2 separate regions of the Homo sapiens genome follow, and region 2 is linked to region 1. Evidence: promoter capture Hi-C in human tissues and cell types (Jung and others, 2019). All regions are on one chromosome and are shown on one strand. The core of a region is centred on a gene start or on the middle of the fragment in contact, and the rest is flanking DNA. Distances in the headings are between cores, read along the strand shown.

Region 1 (4,333 bases), core at 992-3,491:
AGTAATACAGTAAGTAACTATTGGAGTTGTAGGGTGATTCATTGATGAATGTATTTCTTCTTCACTCTGGTGTATATTCCAACAGAGCAGAGACTGATTTATTGCATCATTACCTTCCTGTCCTCTAGCATTGGCCCAGCTCCCCAAATACTTGTTGAGTGGAAGAATACCTCATAAGGTTGATATAGATGGAAAAGAAATAAACTGTATATAGCACTATATAAACAAACATACCCAGTCAGTCCTCTGTATTCGCAGGGTCTACATTATGGGACTCAACCAACTATACACTGGAAACATTCAAGGAAAGAAGAAAAAAAAATAACAATACAACAATAAAAATAATACAGTCCAACAACTATTTTCATAGCATTTACATTGTATTAGGTATCATAAGTAATATAGAGATGTTTTAAAGCATAGAAGATACATTAATATGTAGGTTTTATACACATAGTGCACCATTTTACATAAGGGACTTGAACATCCATGAATTTTGGTATCCCTCAGGGTTCTGAAACTAATCCCTGATAGATGCGACTGTATATGTGTGTATGTATCAGTATATAGAATACTATGGTTAGCACATGGTAAGTATTCCATACATTTTGATTGTTTTTTATTATTATTGCTTGGAACCTCAACTGAAAATGTGTCTCCTTCTTGCACAGAACATGGATACTTCTTGTGCTATGTCACAAGAAGTCACTATCTCCCCAAATAAAAGGCTAGATTGACCAGAATGTTTGCATCTTTCCCATTCAAGCACCTGGCTAGGCCCATTAAGCCTAGGGCCCTACCTCTCAATGCTTTTCAATCCCCTGACACTCAGTACTCTCATTACATATTTGGTGACTTAATTTACAGAATTGCTAAACTCACATTTCTGAACATGGCTTCTAAAACTGACTATCTCTCCCCAGCTTAGCCAGAAGGGCTGCAAGGAAGAACAGAGACCAGAAGGCCTACAGCAGCTAGCAAGGTTAACTTCATGGAGCACCATCGTGCCTTTCAAAGTTCCCATTTCACAAAGTTTTGCCTGGGAACTCAGCAGGAACTTTAGCAACAGGAGAGAATTAGAAATAAATGGCTAAATGAAACCTAGATTTATGTTTCAGTCAATTGAGAGAATCTGACATGTTATGTGCCAGCCCACAGTAGGTATTCAGTAAGTAACTGTTGAATAAATTTGGTGGTAGAAAAAAATATCTCAGTGGCTCTTGGCATTCATTGCCTCTTCTATAGAGACTATACTATACATCCCTCTGCTGCCTTTGAGCAGGACTTTAAAACTCTATGACTCTAGTAAAATCAAGAGTATTTTCACAACCAAGATAAGTTTTTACAATGGTTTTCCTCCACATGGTAAAAAAGAAAGAAGGAAAAAAAATGATGAAGCTCCCTGAATTACTGGATGGGAAACACTGGCTTCTTTAATGCAGGAATGCAGACTGGCTTCGGGGTTCTTGAAGGAGAAATGCATAACTCTTCCTCTCCAGGCTTTTGGCTGGAGACACCCTGTGGGTAAGTTAGGGGAGAGGTAAGAGGGAGCGGGCAATTCCAGTATTTTCACATAGGGAAAGGGTAACGAAGAATCAGGCTGTAAAAGCCAGCTATTGGGAGAGGAAATAAAACTTAAAAATTTGTCATCGTTACTGAAAAAAAAAAAAAAAAAGGTAGGGACAAAAGGAATAGGAAAATGATGGGGGTGGGGGGACTAGTAAAGGAAAACCTGCAAAGGAAGTTGGAAAGAGGAAAGAGTGTCATACGCATTTTGTTTTTATTCCTGCTCCTTCTCTCTCACTCCCTCCAGAAGCTAGAAAAAGTTTGCAAGCGCAACTTTAGGGATGGGAGACGGGGCTCTTCACCAACAGCCCCACGAAAAGAAGTGCCCGCTTTACCCTTCCCCATTCGCGCCGCCGTCCTTTCCCTCTAGCGGGGTGATGGGCAGGAGGCGACACTCTTGGGACGCGGTAGCCCAGGCGGATCCCCCGGAATCCCGCTGGGCTGGAGCAGCACGCAGCTCTCTCTCTGGCAAAGCCTCCTCTGCCTTGGCCATCCACCTCCCGGAAAAGAAAAAGGAAAGATCGAGCCTCTAAACAGTCCTTTTCCCCCACCCCCTCTTCCCGGGGGAGCTCAGGAAGAAAGTACCGTTCTGTGATTCACTGGAGAGAAAAGAGGGAGGAGGCAAAAGAACTCGGAGTGCCAAAGCTAAATAAGTTAGCTGAGAAAACGCACGCAGTTTGCAGCGCCTGCGCCGGGTGCGCCAACTACGCAAAGACCAAGCGGGCTCCGCGCGGACCGGCCGCGGGGCTAGGGACCCGGCTTTGGCCTTCAGGCTCCCTAGCAGCGGGGAAAAGGAATTGCTGCCCGGAGTTTCTGCGGAGGTGGAGGGAGATCAGGAAACGGCTTCTTCCTCACTTCGCCGCCTGGTGAGTGTCGGGGAGATTGGCAAACGCCTAGGAAAGGACTGGGGAAAATAGCCCTGGGAAAGTGGAGAAGGTGATCAGGAGGCCGGTCCACTACGGCAGTTTATCTGTCTGATCAGAGCCAGACGCGACGCGTCCACTTCGCAGTTCTTTCCAGGTGTGGGGACCGCAGGACAGACGGCCGATCCCGCCGCCCTCCGTACCAGCACTCCCAGGAGAGTCAGCCTCGCTCCCCAACGTCGAGGGCGCTCTGGCCACGAAAAGTTCCTGTCCACTGTGATTCTCAATTCCTTGCTTGGTTTTTTTCTCCAGAGAACTTTTGGGTGGAGATATTAACTTTTTTCTTTTTTTTTTCCTTGGTGGAAGCTGCTCTAGGGAGGGGGGAGGAGGAGGAGAAAGTGAAATGTGCTGGAGAAGAGCGAGCCCTCCTTGTTCTTCCGGAGTCCCATCCATTAAGCCATCACTTCTGGAAGATTAAAGTTGTCGGACATGGTGACAGCTGAGAGGAGAGGAGGATTTCTTGCCAGGTGGAGAGTCTTCACCGTCTGTTGGGTGCATGTGTGCGCCCGCAGCGGCGCGGGGCGCGTGGTTCTCCGCGTGGAGTCTCACCTGGGACCTGAGTGAATGGCTCCCAGGGGCTGTGCGGGGCATCCGCCTCCGCCTTCTCCACAGGCCTGTGTCTGTCCTGGAAAGATGCTAGCAATGGGGGCGCTGGCAGGATTCTGGATCCTCTGCCTCCTCACTTATGGTTACCTGTCCTGGGGCCAGGCCTTAGAAGAGGAGGAAGAAGGGGCCTTACTAGCTCAAGCTGGAGAGAAACTAGAGCCCAGCACAACTTCCACCTCCCAGCCCCATCTCATTTTCATCCTAGCGGATGATCAGGGATTTAGAGATGTGGGTTACCACGGATCTGAGATTAAAACACCTACTCTTGACAAGCTCGCTGCCGAAGGAGTTAAACTGGAGAACTACTATGTCCAGCCTATTTGCACACCATCCAGGAGTCAGTTTATTACTGGAAAGTAAGTGTTCCTACTTCTTATATTTATTCCTTGGAGAAATCTTAAGCATTTAATGAAGATCCAGCTCCAAATTTAAGGGAGTAACAGAAAGTATGGGGAACAACTGAATGAATGAAGAATGAATGAATGATGTATGGTATTGGGGTACCGTGTTAAAATGGATACAATGTTAATGATCTTAATTTTCTAGTCACTAGTGTAGTCTAGTTTTCCTTTTTACAGAGCCAATTATAAGTTTCTAAATGAGATGAGAACGTATAAATACCCACAAACCAGAGATTTCCAGAAATGGTCTCCTGTTTCAAATCTATTCTACTTTTGAGCATGCTCAGATTTTGTTTCAGATGTCATACTAGAATTCACACTCACCATCACTGATAAGAAAGATCAAAAATTTTTTTTACTCTTGGTGCATTCTTAAATCTAGAATTATCAGAGAAAATGAACCAACGAAACAGATATAGAGTAATGTAAAATATGACCAGTTTATGTATGACTCTGCTTCGGTCTTTGATGGGTCATTTTCTCTTATGAGACCCCCTAATGAAGGCCATATTTAATTAGCAAAGCAGTTCTCAAAATGCAAGGAAATACAATGGTAAGTGCTCAAGAGGAGTCAAACTTCATCTGCAGTTTTCTGTTGCTCTTCACAGGTCTGGAATTTTCTGACTAACCAACAGAAATCAGACTATTTGGATGCTTAAGTAAAGTGCTTTTCATATTGTTGCTGCTTTGCTAAGTAGCTAAATCTTCTACTTAAATTGTTCAAACATTTTCATATTTTTACTCTATCCTATCAGAACACAGGCTACTGTAATTGATTTGGATGTACAAATTCAGCCTGTGGAACGAAGATAAACTAGGAAGGGCAGGGGTTAAGCT
Region 2 (4,333 bases), core at 757-3,256, 57 kb before region 1:
AGCTCTAAACGAAGAGTTAGAGGGATGGAAGAGTTGATCCCAAATACAGGAATTAAAAATTGGGGCTAGAAGTTCAACTTAGTTTCCAGTTACATGTAAAAATGGAGTCAGTAAATGTAGCCCAAGACTCATGTTTGAAATAAATTTGTAAAATGCCATAAGCTTCATAATTTTACCACTTTTGATCACTTCCCTCTAAAGACTAGTAGTAATGTACTAAAATTGTGAAAGGCTTATATTTTGGCTATTTTTATTAAAAAACCTCCCACCTTACCCACCATACCCTCCATCCTTCTTCATTTTGCTTGTGCTCCATCTGGGAGACTGATCTGTATGGTATGCACCAATAGCTGCCACACCCGCTGGCTTCTGGTTGGTTTGGCCAATGAGAAGCACAAGCAGATGTTGTGATGATAGAAAAGGATGAGTTTAGGGTATTTATGGATTCCCTTAGGACCCTCCCTGCTGGGTTGCTGGGAGTTGGTTTCATCTTTCCTGAAGGTCATAACTTCTGCCAGGTGGCCCTCTCCATAAAGCCATTCTCCTTGGTTTTAGTAAAGCTTCTCCTCTTCTTACCCCTTCTCCTTTACCCCCTGAAAAATATAGCAACCCAAAAATGACACCACATGCCTGGGTGAATTGAAAAAATTAGTTCCACAACAAACAATCTTTTAAATATAGGGGAAGTTGATTCATACCACGTGTTCATCTAAATAGCTTGTTTGGCTGGTGCATAAGTTTGATAGGTCTTGGATAATGACTGAGTTATGTTTTAACCTGCAGCTCCAGATGAGGAAAAATCACTACAGTCTTCAGCAGCTAGAATACAGCTGTTGACTTAGCTGATTAAAAATCAGTCAAGGAAAATTAGAAGCAGTTTCATAGATACAAAAGTATATCTTTACCACATTGCTTCAGGACAAAGTCAACTCTCCTGCCCAGTGTCATAATTTAGTCCTTTATAGTCTTTATATACCACAGAATATCACACTAGCTTGTTTATTATGCTGATGCTGTTATACTAATGAGTCTGGGGATCAGGACTAGTAAGACCCATGCACATAAGAGGATAGCAACTAAACCCTGTGAAGTTTCAGAGGTTTGCCACATTGGTATAGATTCTTAAGAATCCAGTGATTTGGGAAATATCAGAATATTGCTTTGAAAGTGAGATATCTGCTCACCTACCACAAAGAAAGGCAGATTGCTTGGAGGGCATTTTTGAATTTTGGAGCAAAATATAGCAGGTTTAAATTGTCAGTGTGGAATGGGTCCCACATCAAGAAAAGGCTTTGCAGCAAGTCCAGGCTGTAATAAAAACCCTGCAGACACTTGGACATTTTAACCCAGAAAAGCCTGTGGAGGTAGAAGTTCTGCTATATAAAGAACGGCACAGGGAGGAGGTCTGGCAGGCTGGAGGAGAGGGAGGTGCAGGTTCCTATTCCCTCAGCTACCTTCCGCCTGTTTTGGCTATCTCTACTGAAAGATCCTGTTCTTCTCAGGCATCTTTCCCCACAGAGCCTCTCTCCACCTTCTTGTAACTGTTCGTTTCCTTGCCTCTTTAGGCCTAGGAATGACAGTGGCTCCCGGCTGTGGCCAAGCCCATAGGACTGCACAAGTATTTTATGATGTTCCTCTACCCTTTTGTAGTCGCTTTATTAACCTCTTCTGTTTCAAAGTGACATCTCTTTCCTGTGCCTGCTTGTTTTCAGCAAGAAAATAGAGAATCTGATGAAATAGGATCCCATTCTACAGAACAGAAAAGAAGCCTGTGGATATTTAGTGGTAGCACAATCACAGGAAGGTAAAATAGAGCTGTAAAGATAAATTGAGATATTAACTGTGAAACTCATTGTGAAACCTGGCACTTCCTAGGTTTTCAATTTATGTCATTCCTTCTTCCTTGGCCTCGCCTCTCCCTTCTATATTACTTCGGTTGCCATAGCAACTGTTCTTCAGTGGCACCTAGTTTTTGAATGATGTACTTTACACAGCGTTAATCATTTTCATAGCACCTCTGGTGAGGGCACTGTGCTTCCGTCACCAACCACACTCTTTTCTGATGGTCTTTCTCTTTGTTCCCTGAGATATTTCTTCCAAACCACCATATTAAGGTAGGCTGATTAGAGAATCTCTTCCAATGTTTATGGCTATTATAGTAATGCTTTAATGTTCTGGGTCGTATCCTATATTCTTTTTAAGATTTAACCCATCTGCTTATGATTGATCAGTCTTTCACATGTAGGCACACTCAAATATGGGATAGTTATGTTTCCTTATAATTATGTGACAACTCCCCTCCACTCCACTTTTTTGCCCCTATTGGAAATTCCTTAGAATTAAACTTCTGTTATAGACTATTCTTTTTAAAAGGGTGGCAAATTTGCCAGACTCTCATAAATTCAACAAGTATTTATTGTATGCCTATTTGATGCTGGGAATATAATAGTGAGTATATTTCTACCTTTAAGGAATTTGTAGTCCAATTAAGAGCTCCCAGATTGTCTTCTCTCCAGAATAGAAATCCCTTCTTTAAGACACGGCATCCTATTTGTCTAAAGGTGGGTAAAGTTCCTAACTCTCCATCCCACCATGGAAAGCATTATTATTATATCAACTCAGACCTGAGATAAGAAGGCCTGCATTCAAATCGTGACTCCTCAAATCTTCAGCTAGCCACTTACTAGCTGGGGGACTTTTTACTGGATTACTTAACCTTTCCTCACAGAGTTGTTTTGAGATTTAAATGTAATAATCTGTGTAAATCACCTAGTATAATACCTGGAGCATTCATCATATGATTACCACTCATTAAACAATCACTTAAAAAGAAGTCTCCTAGAGAAATACATTACGGGTGAGTAGAGGGTTCCAGGCAGAGACATGGATCATGGTAGTCTCCAAGCATAGATTTTTCATAACTCAACCAATGTTCTCAGTTCTGTATTTTAAGTAGACTTATCTATGTGTTGCATTTTTAAGACTTCCTTTAAATGCCAGATATTTCATTTTCAATTCAAAAATATGATTTAGGCATCAGCCAAGAAATTACTTGCCTGCCACCATGCATGCAGAAATCAGATGCTTGTAGTAAAAATATTTTCATTTATTCAAGCTTCCAACCATGTCTCTTTTTCTTACAACTTTCAACCCAGATGGTTTACTAAGCTTGCCTTGTTTTTTATATATTATCTAATGGAGTAATGCTAAATGAAGTACTCTACTTACTGAAGTACTAATGAAGTAGCTTTTTGATAAGTTACTACCACTGATTTTATAAAAGTTAATGCACATTTTTCCTTCTTCCTGTGATTCTTAAATAGTAAAAAACCTTGATAATGAGAAAAAATTAGCCCATTTAGTAATTGCACTTCATACTATTTTTATACTAAAACAAGTACCACTCTTTTTGTATTTCTCAGTGGAGCCAACTATCAGGTAAGTAGAGACTCAAGTCAAGATTGATGTGATCCACCCGTGCCATCTCCCTTGCAATTCTTTCCAGTGTCACACCAAGATACTGTTTGAAGAAACAATACTTTGGGATCTGTAGACATGATGCTTCTGCCAATATTGTCATTGGGTATATTTATGACCTCGGGCAAGTAATTTCACTTCACTTCATATCTGTAGTTCGAAGATGGAGGGACTCATCCATTGTGACTCTTCCCTTTCTAGAAACCTACATCATGTACCAGACCTTTCTCCTGTGTTTCTCTGGGTAGGTGTGAAGCACGCCTATTCATGCCTACCATGCCTATGCCCAAGCCACAGAACATTGACTTGATTTATGTTGACCAAAAAAAGTAAGATTATTTCAGACATGAGAAAAATTTAAAAATAATAAATAACACTGCTCTTCAAATGCACTGAATGATTAGTTAAGAATATTATTTTTGTTTCGGTGACAATAGTCATGAAATAACAGACTCTAATTGGAAAGCAAATAACATTTCCCAAAAGGCTATCTTGAAAATGATTTTTGTATTGCCCATTGGATGTTTGCATACAACTTTCATCTTTGGCCAGAACCCAAATATAGACCAGCCTAGAAAGGTAATGGCAATAAAACAAGAGACTTTTGTAATGAAGTCTAGTAAAAGAAAATAAAAGCATTCTCTAAAATACAAGCTTCTAACAATGGTTGCTTTGAATTCCCTGCTATTAATGTTCCTCCACAAGGTAGGCATCCACCTTTATACAAAACTGGCAGTGTTAGAAAGCCCAGAAAGCTCATTTAGTAGTATAAAAGCATGTCTGTTCCTTGTATAAAATGTTTTGTCCCTGGTGATTTTGAGCTAATAACACTGTCAAGAGCACAGAGTTGGCAAAA

What was found. Contacts are between HindIII fragments. The study calls those that stand out against the background at their distance.
Region 2: a fragment that was not itself captured here is called in contact with the fragment with the promoter of ARSJ in region 1 in 1 of the 25 tissues and cell types used here (H1 embryonic stem cells).

The regions. Positions count from the first base shown.
Region 1 is chr4:113,977,555-113,981,887 of GRCh38, reverse strand. It overlaps ARSJ (arylsulfatase family member J), which reads left to right and starts at 2,241. Exons shown (of 2, transcript NM_024590.4): 1 at 2,241-3,451. The coding sequence starts at 3,054. LOC107986305 (a long non-coding RNA gene) reads right to left here and starts at 2,075. Exons shown (of 2, transcript XR_001741794.2): 1 at 1,902-2,075; 2 at 360-1,518. LOC124900762 (a long non-coding RNA gene) reads left to right here. Exons shown (of 3, transcript XR_007058237.1): 3 at 924-993. The HindIII fragment of the contact is 13,267 bases long and covers 1-4,333 here.
Region 2 is chr4:114,034,257-114,038,589 of GRCh38, reverse strand. LOC105377376 (a long non-coding RNA gene) reads left to right here and starts at 2,039. Exons shown (of 3, transcript XR_939088.2): 1 at 2,039-2,114. The HindIII fragment of the contact is 3,289 bases long and covers 362-3,650 here.